Linked DNA regions of Homo sapiens: region 2 is linked to region 1. Evidence: promoter capture Hi-C in 16 types of primary human blood cells and fetal thymus (Javierre and others, 2016). All regions are on one chromosome and are shown on one strand. Each heading gives the region's core, a stretch centred on a gene start or on the middle of the fragment in contact. The rest is flanking DNA. Distances are from core to core; before and after follow the strand shown. Region 1 holds the start of BACE1 (beta-secretase 1). Region 2 holds the start of ATP5MG (ATP synthase membrane subunit g).

The links. Contacts are between HindIII fragments. The CHiCAGO score rates a contact against its expected background, and 5 or more counts as called.
Region 2: the fragment with the promoter of ATP5MG here is called in contact with the fragment with the promoter of BACE1 in region 1 in 1 of 17 cell types (monocytes); the score reaches 6.2 in monocytes.

The regions. Positions count from the first base shown.
Region 1 is chr11:117,313,184-117,319,456 of GRCh38, forward strand. BACE1 (beta-secretase 1) reads right to left here and starts at 3,073. Exons shown (of 9, transcript NM_012104.6): 1 at 2,352-3,073. The coding sequence starts at 2,612. RefSeq lists enhancers at 939-1,461, 1,462-1,983 and silencers at 2,512-2,621, 2,712-2,801. The HindIII fragment of the contact is 5,304 bases long and covers 886-6,189 here.
Region 2 is chr11:118,399,067-118,405,395 of GRCh38, forward strand. It overlaps ATP5MG (ATP synthase membrane subunit g), which reads left to right and starts at 2,540. Exons shown (of 3, transcript NM_006476.5): 1 at 2,540-2,651. The coding sequence starts at 2,600. The region is part of intron 3 of LOC100131626 (a long non-coding RNA gene); the gene reads right to left. UBE4A (ubiquitination factor E4A) reads left to right here. Exons shown (of 20, transcript NM_001204077.2): 20 at 1-145. RefSeq lists enhancers at 2,201-2,280, 2,401-3,264, 3,723-4,313. The HindIII fragment of the contact is 3,431 bases long and covers 1-3,272 here.

The DNA.
Region 1 (6,273 bases), core at 1,823-4,322:
CAGAGACTGGCTGATGCAGGCTTAGTTAGAAATCATAGTGCAAGCCACACAGTTGCTTTAGTTGTGGGCTCCCTGGCACTAGCTTCCTGGACTGGTGTTGAACTTTAAGCCCACTTTCCTCTTCTAGAAAGGAACGAGGAAGGAACTGACATTTATTGAGCAATTACTCTCTGCTAAGTACTGGGCTGCAGGATGTATGCATTATTTCAGGGGATCAGGGAAGTACAGCAATGGATACCCCGTTTTTGTTTTTGTTTTTATTTTTTCTGAGACAGAGTTTTGCTCTTGTTGCCCAGGCTGGAGGGCAATGGTGCGATCTTGTCTCACTGCAACCTCCGCCTCCCAGGTTCAAGCGATTCTCCTGCCTCAGCCTCCTGAGTAGCTGGGATTACAGGTGCATGCCACCAGGCCCGGCGAATTATTTTTGTATTTTTAGTAGAAACAGGGTTTTGCTATGTTAGCCAAGCTGGTCTCGAACTCCTGACCTCAGGTGATCTGCCCACCTTGGCCCCCCAAAGTGCTGGGATTACAGGATACCCCAGTTTTATACATGTAAAACGTGGAGGCCCAGGACATCCGAGTTTTTATGCCTCATTGCATAGAATTGAAGAGGCAGAACAGGCCAGACAAGGATAAAGTGACTTCATATTTGTTGGAGGTCAGTTTTATATGCTGGTGTATTGTTCTGGGTGAAAGCACCTAGAACAATTAACCCTCACAACTTAATCCTCACAATTACCTTGCAAAGGAGGTCTCATTTCCTACTCATTTTAAAGATATGACAGTAGTTTCAGAGAGGTTATGCAATTTGCCCAAGGCCACACAGCTGAGAAGAGGAAAAGCTGTGGGTGGTAGAGCTGGGATTCGTGGACTGTCTGACCTCAAAGCTTGTGTGGGTTCTGCAGCCCCGTCCTGCATCGTGCCATGGGGTCCATGCACAGTGTGCACAGCATGTCAGTCGCAGAAACAGGAGTAGGTCCCAGGTCTCTGCATACCTGCTGCTCCCTGACGATATCATCTAGCGTTCTGTTTGCTCAGGGCCTGGATTTGGCTTCTGTCCTGCCCTCCCAAATTCCCACTGGAGACTACTGCTGGGGAAGTTATGGTGCACAGGAAAGAGGATGAGAAAGTGGGGAAGACCAGGCTTTCGACTAGCTGAGAGGTAGGGCTGGGGAGCACGCACCTAGGAAGGCTGGCTTCTGTAAAGTAATTGGGAGGTGGGGGTTTGTGTTTCTCCCAGATCCAGCTGTCTGAGAAGTTCAGGAAAGTGTGGCTGTCCCCTCCGCCCACCCCAAACACACTCCCACCTTCACAGACCCTCCCAAGGACAGACTTCCCAGACACAGATCCGGAGGTGGCTCACAGATGTGCAGGATCAGATTCAAGGTGACACGCACCAGCATACACAGAACCACAGGGCTGCCCGGGCCCGGACTGCCCCACAGAGGCGGCAGATGCACACAGAGGTCAGCCACAGCACCCCACATGGAGGGCTGCTCACCCACAGAGGTGCAGAGGGTGCCACCTCCACCAGCCACCTTGAAGGTACCTTGGAGATTGTCAGGAAGGATGGGGAGGGCATAACAGTGTTTTCTCTGTAACTCCCCTCTCCCCCGCCATGGAAGGAGTCCCACTCTTAAAAGGGAGCTCTGGCTCCTTTCCTACCATTTGTTCTTTCACCAGGCTCAGTTCAGTTCCCCTCTGGCCTGGGGAGGTGTGGGGTGGGGGAGGGGCCGGAGTGTAGACCGCGAGAGGGAGAAGGGGAGGAGGAGGGGACGGCAGGAGCCTGTCCAGGGCTTCCGGGCGGAGTGCAGTCAGGGGGGCCTCGACAACCTCACTTTGCCGTACCAGTGGCAGCCCAGATGGTGGGAGCAAGGTGCTTATTCAACTGCTGCCAGGATTCCTTGGTCCTGGAGGTACTGGGAACAATGGTGGGAATCAGAGGAGGGGACAAGGTTGGGTGGCCAACCTCTAGAGTGGTGGGATTTGGGAGACTCGGACTGGGCCACTGTCAGAGGGGGCTGACACCTGTTATAGTGCCCCTGTGGCGGACCCTTCCTCCAGGTCAGGGTCCCCAGCTGATGTGTCTGTCTTGCCTCAAATCCTTCCAGACGGCGTATGTGTCAGATGAGGAGCAAGGGGAACTAGGCAGCCAGGGGAGACGAGGAGGGAATGGGGAGCTTGGGAACACTTCTGCCAACAACCACGTGACCCCCGGGGAATGGCTGGGGAGGGGTCCCTCCTGCTGTCCCCACCAGCCCATTTGAGCAGGGGCTAGCTTGAGGCATCCCCATCCTGTCTCCCCTCTGCTCATGCAGGCGGAGGGCTAAGGGCTGGCCTGACCACCTTACCGTCTGCGGGGGGCTGCCCACGGTCATCTCCACGTAGTAGCCCTGCCCCGACTTGCCCCTCAGGTTGTCCACCATCTCCACAAAGCTGCCCCTCCGGCCGGGCTCCTCGGGCTCTTCGTCGGTCTCCCGGGGCAGCCGCAGCCCCAGGGGGGCGCCCCCCAGGCCGCTGCGCAGGGGCAGCCGGATGCCGTGCTGGGTGCCGTGGGCAGGCAGCACTCCCGCGCCCATCCACAGCAGGAGCCAGGGCAGGGCTTGGGCCATGGTGGGCCCCGGCCTTCGGGCCCTCTGGGCTCGCACTGGCCCACGTCCGTCCCTGGCGCCTGCCCCCAAGTCTGGGTGGTGCTGGTGGCTTCTCAGGAGAGGGAGCTTGGGGGCATCAGGACGCCAGGGCCTGCAGGGCCCTGGGCCAGCCCCCGGGTCCGGGCTGTGGAGAGCGGTCAGGGGAGATCCGCAGAGCACGGGAGCAGGGGAGAGGCTGGGATCCGGAGCCCGCTACATCGGCACGGCGGCGGCCAGCCTGGGCAGCGGGCGCGGGCTCCCGGCGGGGCTGGGAGGGGCGGGCATGGCGGGCCGGTGGCGGCTTCCCTGGTCCCCCCGGCGGGCGGCGGCGCGGGCAGGGGCAAGGGCTCCGGGCTCCTGCGGCTGCGTTGGCTGCTCAGGCCACCATAATCCAGCTCGCGGCTCGCAGCTCCCGGGCGGGCTGGGGAGGCGGAAAGACTTGTGGCGGCGGCTGTCAAAGCCAAAAGGTTTTCGCTTTTCCCTGGGATCGCTGGGAAGTGTAGTCTTCCCATGGCAGGCAATCCGGCTTCCGGGGCTGGAGAGGGGTCTGGGATGCCCTCTGCCGAGGTGGAGTCCGCCCTGCAAGGCCCTGGCGGGAAGGGCCAGACGGATGGAGAGGGGCACACCTCCCGTCTGTCAGTCTTTCTTTCAGCATGGAAGGAGCACCCACTGTATGCCAGGCACACTGCCAGGCGCTGGAGATACAGAGAGAAATAAACGGTGATTCTACACGGGACAGTTAAGTGATTCCTGCCGCGGTGGGGTTTCACACTATACGATGTGGCATTAAGGAGTAGGGATTTGGAGGGACATCTAGGGGATCTGGGAAGACTCAGTGGGAGAAGGTGGTATTTAATTTGAGCGTTTAAAAATGGGTAGGATTTTCACGAGCAGAGATTGAGGGAGCAGGATGAAAGGGGAGGAAGAGTTTTTCCAGGCTGCAAACCAGCGGAGCAGGGTCCAAAAGGGGAAAGTGCAGTTGTCTTATTTTCTCCTGCGCCTGCGATCTGCGGGCAGGTAAGAGCCAGTGGGTCTTCTCCCATCTGAACCTGTTTGTGCCCTTGAGGCTCTACTTGAATCCTTATGGCTCCTCTGATTTTCTGCACCATCAGCCAGACTGAGGAGAAATGGCTGTTGATAGCTTTAAAGTGTTAACACTCCGAAAAGTATCTCTATATTAACTGGTAAGAGCTTAAAGCCTTGAACCAAAAGCGTTAGAGTTCTAATAGCTTAAAGGAGAAAAGCCGGTATGGTTTTAACAATATATTGTTTATCAAATGTGGAAAGCCATTGATAAAATTCAGCAGTTACTCTGATTTAATTTTTTTAAAAAATGAAAGGGAATCTTCATTTTTCTTTTGAAAAGGAGACTTGCTCTGTCACCCAGGCTGGAGTGCAGTGGCATGGTCTCAAGTCTGCAACCTCCGCCTCCCGGGTTCAAGCAGTTCTCATGCCTCAGCCTCTGAGTAGCTGGGATTACAAGCATGCGCCACCATACCCAGCTAATTTTTGTATTTTTAGTAGAGATGGGATTTCACCATGTTGGCCAGGCTGGTCTCGAACTCCTGGCCTCAAGTGATCCGCCCACGTCGGCCTCCCAAAATGCTGGGATTATAGGCATGGACCACTGTACCCAGCCAGGAAACTTTTTAAACAAGATAACGACAACAACAACAAATGTAGTAATAACAGGCTACGTTACTCCCATTAAAGGCAGGCTTTGGAAAGGAAAGATCATTATCTCTACTCTTTTTTTTTTTTTTTTTGAGAAGGCGTCTCGCTTTGTCGCCCAGGCTGGAGTGCAGTGGTGGGATCTCAGCTCACTGCAAGCTCTGCCTCCCGGGTTCAGGCTATTCTCCTGCCTCAGCCTCCCGAATAGCTGGGACTACAGGCGCCTGCAACCACGCCCCGCTAATTTTTTGTATTTTTAGTAGAGACGGGGTTTCACCGTGTTAGCCAAGATGGTCTCGATCTCCTGACCTCGTGATCCTCCCGCCTCGGCCTCCCAAAGTGCTGGGATTACAGGCGTGAGCCACCGCGCCCGGCCGATCATTATCTCTACTCTTATCCTACACGGTTCAGACCGGTCTGATTGACTCAAAAGACAAGAAAATGGAAAAAGTGTTATATATGTTGGAAAGCAAAGGAATCATTAGTTGCAGATTATATGATATGGATAGAAAACCCTAATCAATAAGATGATTAGACACAAGTTAAAAAAATCGAAATCAAAATAGAGAAATGTATCTATGGGAATTGTAGATATGATAGAGATGGCATTCGTATTAGAGGAAAATGGACGCATTATTCAAAAACTGTTGTTGGGACGTCTGGCAGCCCATTTGGAAGGAAAAAAAACCAAATCCAATTTCATTCCTCTGAAAATAAACTCCAGATAGATTAAAGAATTTAACATTAAAATAAAACTACAGGAAAAATAGAATATTTTCATGATCTTATATTGAAGAAGACCTCCCTAACAAACCCTAGAAGGTAAACAAACCCAAAAACTGGATGGATTTGATGACTTAAATATTTAAAACTTCTGTAGAATCAGAAGTATTCCAATACCACCAGTGTTCTAATTCTGGTTCAATTAGTAACTGGGAGAGCCCACTCTGGTTACTTACTTTTTGAGTCCTTTTTTTTTTTTTTGAAACAGTCTCACTTTATCACCCAGGCTGGAGTGCAGTGGCTTCATCTCAGCTCACTGCAACCTCCTCCTCCTGGGTTCAAGCGATTCTTGTGCCTCAGCCTCCTGAGTAGCTGGGATTACAAGCGCACACCACCATGCCTGGCTAATTTTTTTTTTTTTTGAGACGGAGTCTCCCTCTGTCACCCAGGCTGGAATGCAGTGGCATGATCTCAGCTCACTGAAACCTCTGCCTCCTCAAGCGATTCTCCTGCCTCAGCCTCCCAAGTAGCTGGGACTACGGGCACGCGCCAGCACGCCCAGCTAATTTTTGTATTTTTAGTGGAGACGGGAATTCACCATGTTAGCCAGGCTGGTCTCTAACTCCTTACCTCAAGTTATCTGCCTGCCTCAGCCTCCCAAAGTGATGAGATTACAGGCGTGAGCCAACTTGCCTGGCCCCTTTTTGAGACTTGATTTTATCATTTGTAAAATGGAGATAATGATATTAATAGTTCAAACCTCAAAAGGTAAGAATTCGATGAGACAATCCATGTAAAGCATTTAGAATGGTGTCCAGCATATTGTAAGTGCTCAATAAAGGTCAGCTATTAGGATTATTACTGTTGCAACTACTGAGAAAACTGACATTTACAAAGTTAAAAGATCAGTCACAGATTAAGAAACAACATTTATCACACAATAGAGACAAAGGGCTAATGTTTATAATGTGCAAAGAGCTTCTACAAATCAATATAAATCCCAAACAACCTGATAGAAAAATGAACAAAGGGTAAGGGGAAAGAGTGAGGAAAAACAACAACAAAACACAAAAAAGAAAAGAAAAAGAAAAATGAACAAAGAATGTGAACAGTTAATTCACAGAGGAAATTCAAATGGATGATAAACATAAAAAACCTTGAAAAAAGCTTAACTTCGTTAATAGTTGAAAGAACACAAAGTAAAACAGTAGATTCTTTGTTCCTTTTTCTTTCTTTCGTCTCCTCTCAG
Region 2 (6,329 bases), core at 1,290-3,789, 1.1 Mb after region 1:
AACAGAAAATGAAAAGGTTGATTGAAATAAAACTTGATCAACGCGACTGTATTTTGAAACATTCCAGGAAGGTTACTTCTTGTCAAACTTGCCTGGCAGTGTTTGTTCAAAACTTGTATTTAATAAATGAACATCTGACTTACAACCTTTGTTATCACTTTATTCCAGTATTAAAAGCTAGTGGCAGTTTCAGAAATCCCCCTGAAAACTTAGAGGATTCTGACGTTTCACTTTTTTTTTAGGTAAGTAACATCAAATATGTGTGACCTGGCTGACCCAGCCTGCCTTACCAGGCCTCTGGAGGGGACCCTGGGGTTACCCTCAGGAGATGAATCTCACAGTATGGTTTTCCTAACCAGCTCTCTTTTGGCTTCACTGTTTTTCTTTATCTGGCCTGAACCCCAGGTCTTTGTAATCATTTGCTGTTATCTTCCCCTTTCTTGCTCCTTGTTTCCATACCCCTGCCATGCAAGATGTCAGCCTAGATTAACTCAGCCATTCCCCTCTGCTGTAATATCCAAACTGCAGACCATTGTTGGAGGAAAAACACAATTTTTAGAATGGTACAACCACAAACTTATCTCTAACGTTGCCCAACAACCCTTCTGTGTGTCCTTCAGCTATTCCAAACTTTGGCCTCCTTCCTCAAATTCCTTCTCATACCCCCCTCCCATTGACCCCTCACAGTCCGATGACTTTGCCTTCATTTTGCTGGGAAGATAAAGACTTCAGAGACTTTGAAGACTTTCAGACCTCTCTCCCATAATCACATCTGTGGAAAAGGCCCCATAGATCCCTGGCTAGTTCTCTTTTCCTGCCTCATCAGGGCTCTTGTCAATATCCCTTTTTATCAGGCAGGATGGCCTGTGCCTGTAATCCCAGAGCTAAGCAAGAGGCTGAAGTGGGATGATCTCTTGAGGCCAGGAGTTTCAGGCCAGCCTGGGCAATGTGGCAAGACCCCATCTCTAAATAAATAAATGACTGCCTCTTCTCTGTCTTCAATTTCTCCCCTGAGTTCCACATCCCCCTTTGGTTTTCTGACTTGTAATCCTTTACAGCCATATTTCTTCACCATTCACCCTGGATTCTATCCTAATTTTTTGAAAAGGCGCTAGTTAGTTAAAGATTGCCATATTGCTAAATTAACTTTCCCATCCTTAATTTGACTTTTCTGCAGTATCTAGGGCAGCAGAATCACTCCTTCATTGAAAAGTTCTTAGTTCCTTGATTACACTTCTAATTTTTCTTTCCATCTCTCTAACCATTCCAAAAATCGGAGATTTACTTCTGCTCAGACTTCCCCAGGTTACATTACTTATAGTTCTGTTCCTCTCATCAAATGCCACTTCCCTACATACATCTTTTCCTCCTCATATTAAACTATGAAGTTTCAGCCCTCTGTAGTATACAGCTGTTCTCTTACACATCGGCTCAAGGATCTTTTCTAGGAAGTATGCTGAAATCAGCACCATGCCTAATCTGATGGAATGCCCCCTCTCTGAGTATACATTGCAACTTCAGATCTCAACTCTGCCACTTCCAAACTGTGTGGCCATTTTTCAAGCCCAGTCTCAATGGGGACAATGCCTTACAGGCTTTCTTTAAATTCCAAAATGCCTGGCATAGTGTGGGCGTTCAATACAGGTGATTTTTTCCTCACATCTGCACAGCTCCTTGTGGTTAACTAGGGAATTAGGGGAAATGGATTCCAATCGTGATACAGCACTTTGGGGAGATTGGGATTACAAAAAATCAACTTTAAAAGGGCTATGGGGCCAGGCGCGGTGATTCACGCCTGTAATCCCAGCACCAAGGCGGGTGGATCACTTGAAGCTAGGAGTTCGAGACCAGCCTGGCCAACATGGTGAAACACCGTCTCTACTAAAAGTACAAAAATTAGCCAGGCGTGGTGGCGGGCGCCTGTAGTCCCATCTACTAGGGAGACTGAGGCACAACAATCGCTGGAACCCGGGGGACAGAGGTTGCAGTGAGCCGAAGTCGTGCCACTGCACTTCAGCCTGGGCGACAGAGCGAGACTGTCTCAAATAAAAAGGGCTATGGGTTGAGCCTGGTGACAGCCTGTGTGGTGATTGCTCGGCCCCTAACTTTATATGTTTGGCCTTGGACCCTCTCTACCTCTGTACAACGATCGTGTTGGACTAGAAGAATCTCAGCGAATCCTTCTCCAGTACTGACTTCAAAGGTTCTCAGAATCGCGGCGAAAGCACCCTACGCAAAATAGCGGAGGTCGGCGCCAAGAAAAGCACTGCAGGTTCAGGGCGCATGCGCATTTCCGCTCCTTGCCGGTTTTCCGGACCTCTACGAGTGGCTGCCCCACAAAATGCCTGCTTCTCTGCGGAATCCTACTGTTCTTCACATGCTCTCTAATACCATCTTTTCATATCCACTTTCTCTTCCATGTTGAAAAATTAAATTGACAGGCTGGATTCTGCAAAGATCTTTGGACATTTAAGTATCTTCGACCGGCGCGAAAAGAGGCGGCCTGACCTTGGAAGTGGGACGGGGTCCTGCAGCGGGTCCTTCCGGCGGGTGACATTCAGCCGGCGGTTCGGGGCGACGGACTCTCCATTCCAGAACCATGGCCCAATTTGTCCGTAACCTTGTGGAGAAGACCCCGGCGCTGGTGAACGGTGAGCGCGATGTGAGACCGCCGAGGCGGGCACACGGGCGGCAGGGAGGCCTGCGATGGCCTGAGAGGAAGAAGCGGGCTGCGAAGACCCGAGGGGCCTGCGGGTGCCGGGGCGGGATGGCCTGCAGGTGGAGGGAGCAGGAAGCAGGTTGGCGACTCTTTTCTAGCCTTCCACTCGTCTGACCTGCAGATTGGGTTCTCTACACAACCTAGAAGTTCCTGAATTCTAACCACGACTGGGAAGAGAGGTAGTGTGAAGGAAGCCCGGCGTTGCCCGGCAGCTGCAACCATTACGCCCCCTGAGATCGCTAAGAGCAGGGATCTAGAGGGGATGGTTCTGTTAGGAGAGCTAAGAAAAGGAAGGGCAGAAACGTGAAAGTAAATCAATTCGGCCTCATTACATGTGGTGTTGTTCTCAGTGGAGTATTTGGAAGTCAACAGAAATGTTTAAGGATGGGTGAGCTTTTTTGAACGTTGACTTTGCTTTCTGTCCTAGACGGATTCTAAGATACTTCCGCTTTAATCCGAGGGAAATTTTAGGTGGAAATGGACTTCATGGATGAGTATCCATGCCCCGAGAAGCATAGGACGGGATCCGTATAAACAATAATCTTTGTTACGAAGCTTAGCATTCGTGGAATTTTTTCAGCTTGAAGAGCCTCACTGGTAGACCGCTGTATTTCACAACAACCCTGAATAATCACAGCCTCTGAGTACTAGTTTATTTGGCCAGTAAATATTTCAGTTGTCTTCTCAGTGGCAAGCTATTCATTTTATTCCTGAAGTGAGATAAGCTAAATTGACGTAAGTTTTTCCTAGATGTGCTGTATTCCAGTAAGTGACTGAAGGTCGGATCTCTTAACTTTTGCCTACGTTTATGAAATGTGAATAGAAAGCAGAACTTCAAAAAAAATGTAATACTTTCTAGCCTATTTTGCTGTGTTTGAGTTTGGTTTGGGTATTTTCTTTTTCTTTCTTTCTTTTTTTTTTTTTTTTTTCCTAGAAGACAGGGACTCACTCTGTCGCCCAGGCTGGAGTGCAGTGCAGATCACAGCTCACTGCAGCCTCCACCTCCTAGGCTCAAGCGATCCTCCCACCTCAGCCTCCTGAGTAGCTGGGATCACAGGCACGCACCACCACACCCAGCTAATTTTTGTATGTTTTAAGAGACGGGATTTCACCATGTTGCCCAGGCTAGTCTCTTAACTCCTGGGCTCAAGGGATCCTCCCGCCTCGGTCTCCTAAAGTGCCAGAGTTACAGGTGTGAGCCACAGCGCCAGCCGGGTAATTTATCCATTCTCTCCTCCCTTCCCTCCATCACCAGCCAAACTATGAGTTATTGAAGGCTGTCCTGCAGAACCTCACAGCCTACTAGTGAAACATTTTACACATTTTCCCAAATAATTTCATAAGCTTGCAAGAAAATCTTTTACTTTACTAAGATTGTTAAGATACCTGTCATAGAGCTCTACAATTTTATATAAATCAAAAGAGATGGCCCTGCGGCGGTAGCTTACGCCTGTAATCTCAGCACTTTGGGAGGCCAAGGCGGGCAGATCACTTGAGGGCAGGAGTTCGAGACCAGCCTGGCCAACATAGTGAAACCCCATCTCTACAAAAAATACAAAAATTAGGCAGGCTTGGTGGTGCATGTCTGTAATCGCAGCTACTTGGGAGGCTGAGGCAGGAGAATCGCTTGAACCCCGGAGGCGGAGGTTGCAGTGAGTCAGGATTGCACCACTGCATTCCAGCCTGGGCGACGAAGCGAGGCTAGGTCTCAAAAAAAAAAAATAATAATGCTGGACACTGTGGCTCACGCCTGTAATCCCAGCACTTTGGGAGGCCAAGGCAGGTGGATTACCTGAGGTCAGGAGTTAGACACCAGCCTCACTAATATGGTGAAACCTCGTCTCTACTAAAACAGAAATTAGCCGGGCATGGTGGCAGGCGCCTATAATCCCAGCTACTCGGGAAGCTGAGGCAGGAAAATCTCTTTAACCCAGGAGGCGGAGGTTGCAGTGAGCCAAGATTGCGCCACTGCACTCCAGCCTGGCGACAGAGCGAGACTCCGTCTAAAAAAAAAAAAAAAAAAAACTAAAGAGAAAAAAGGATTAGAGGCTTCACTCTGGACTTTGTGGGTGATTTAAGGCACAATTCTTAATATTTCAAGTGGATTTTTTTTCTGGTGTGGCTTTCACATTTTTTAGGTGGCGCATATTAAGGAATTGCAAACTAATTTTTGTGATCTAAAAAGAAAAGTAACACCAAGGTAATTTTTTTGTTATGAAATATATAATATGAACCCTTCCCTCCGTTGTAAATAATTGAAAGATAACTTGTTATTCTTCCAAAAGTACTTAGAAAGGAGGACTCAACTGGGCTGGAATGTTAACGTGGAAATACATTTTGCTTTATAACATACATAGGCTAGTGTATTAAATGTGAATGTTAAATATTTAATAAAAATTACTGACTATATCTGTTAATTCCCCTGGGGGTCAAAAAAGCTTATGGAAATAAGTAAATTTATCATCAGGTTTGCCTAGGAAGATCATAGAATCTGATTTTTTTTTCCCTTAACTGTAGACTTTATTTGTATTTCAATAGTTTTTCCAATAATCTTTCAGTTCCGGGATCCAATCCAGTGTACCACATTGCATTTAGTTTCTATGTCTTCCCAATCTCCTCTGGTCTGGGACAGTTTCCCAGTCTTCCCTCATCTTTCCTGACCTTGACAGTTTTAAGGTATCTAGGTATCTTGTCTGTCTAGGTATCTGTCTTGTCAAAGTATCTGTCTAGGTATCCTGAAGAATTTCCTCAATCTGGATTTGTCTGGTGTTTTTCTCATGCTTAGTTTGGCACTATGGATTTTGAGGAAATACCACAGTGAAGAGATGCCCTAATCACATGTCAGGAGGTATATGATATTCCTGTGACATCTCTGGTGATACAAGCTTTCATCACTTGGTTATAGGTTCCTCTACTGTAAAGTTACTGTTTTTCTCTCCGTGTTCTATTCTATAGAAGCAAATAACTAAGCCTATCCCATAAAGGCAAGGTGTGATTACAGTGGGGGGATTCCATCCCCTGTAGGAGGGAATATCTACATAAATAGAATTTTTCTGTGAGAAAGATTTGTCTCTTCTCCATTTATTTATCCAGTCACTTATTGTATGGACTTGTACATTGATTTCATACTTTCTGTATCAAATACTGTATTATTGCTCAAATTATTTCAGCCTTGGCTATTTGGGAGCTCTTTCAGGTTAGCACCTCTGTCCCTTTGACATACCGCCTCCCTTTCTGATACTACAAGATGCTTCAGATTTATATTGTATTTTCCCTGTCCCAGCCCTAGAATCAGCCATTTCTCCAAGGAACCTTAGTTCCTTTTATTGGACAATAGAATTGAGAAACTAAGGTCTGGGTGCTGTTTATGTTCCTTGCTACCAGAATATCACTACTTCTAGGTCCTCTCATTTGACAGGAATATAGATATGTATCAGTATAGATGTGTGTATGTGTATATACATGCATACTAAGCCATGTATATACATGCATATATGTATATATAATTATTTCTGTGTCTGTCAGTCTGTGTATATATTAAGCTAAACCTGAGTCCAACTCTAACCCAGTACTGTGGGATTTATTCTTGCTGCTTTTCTTGTTTACCTGT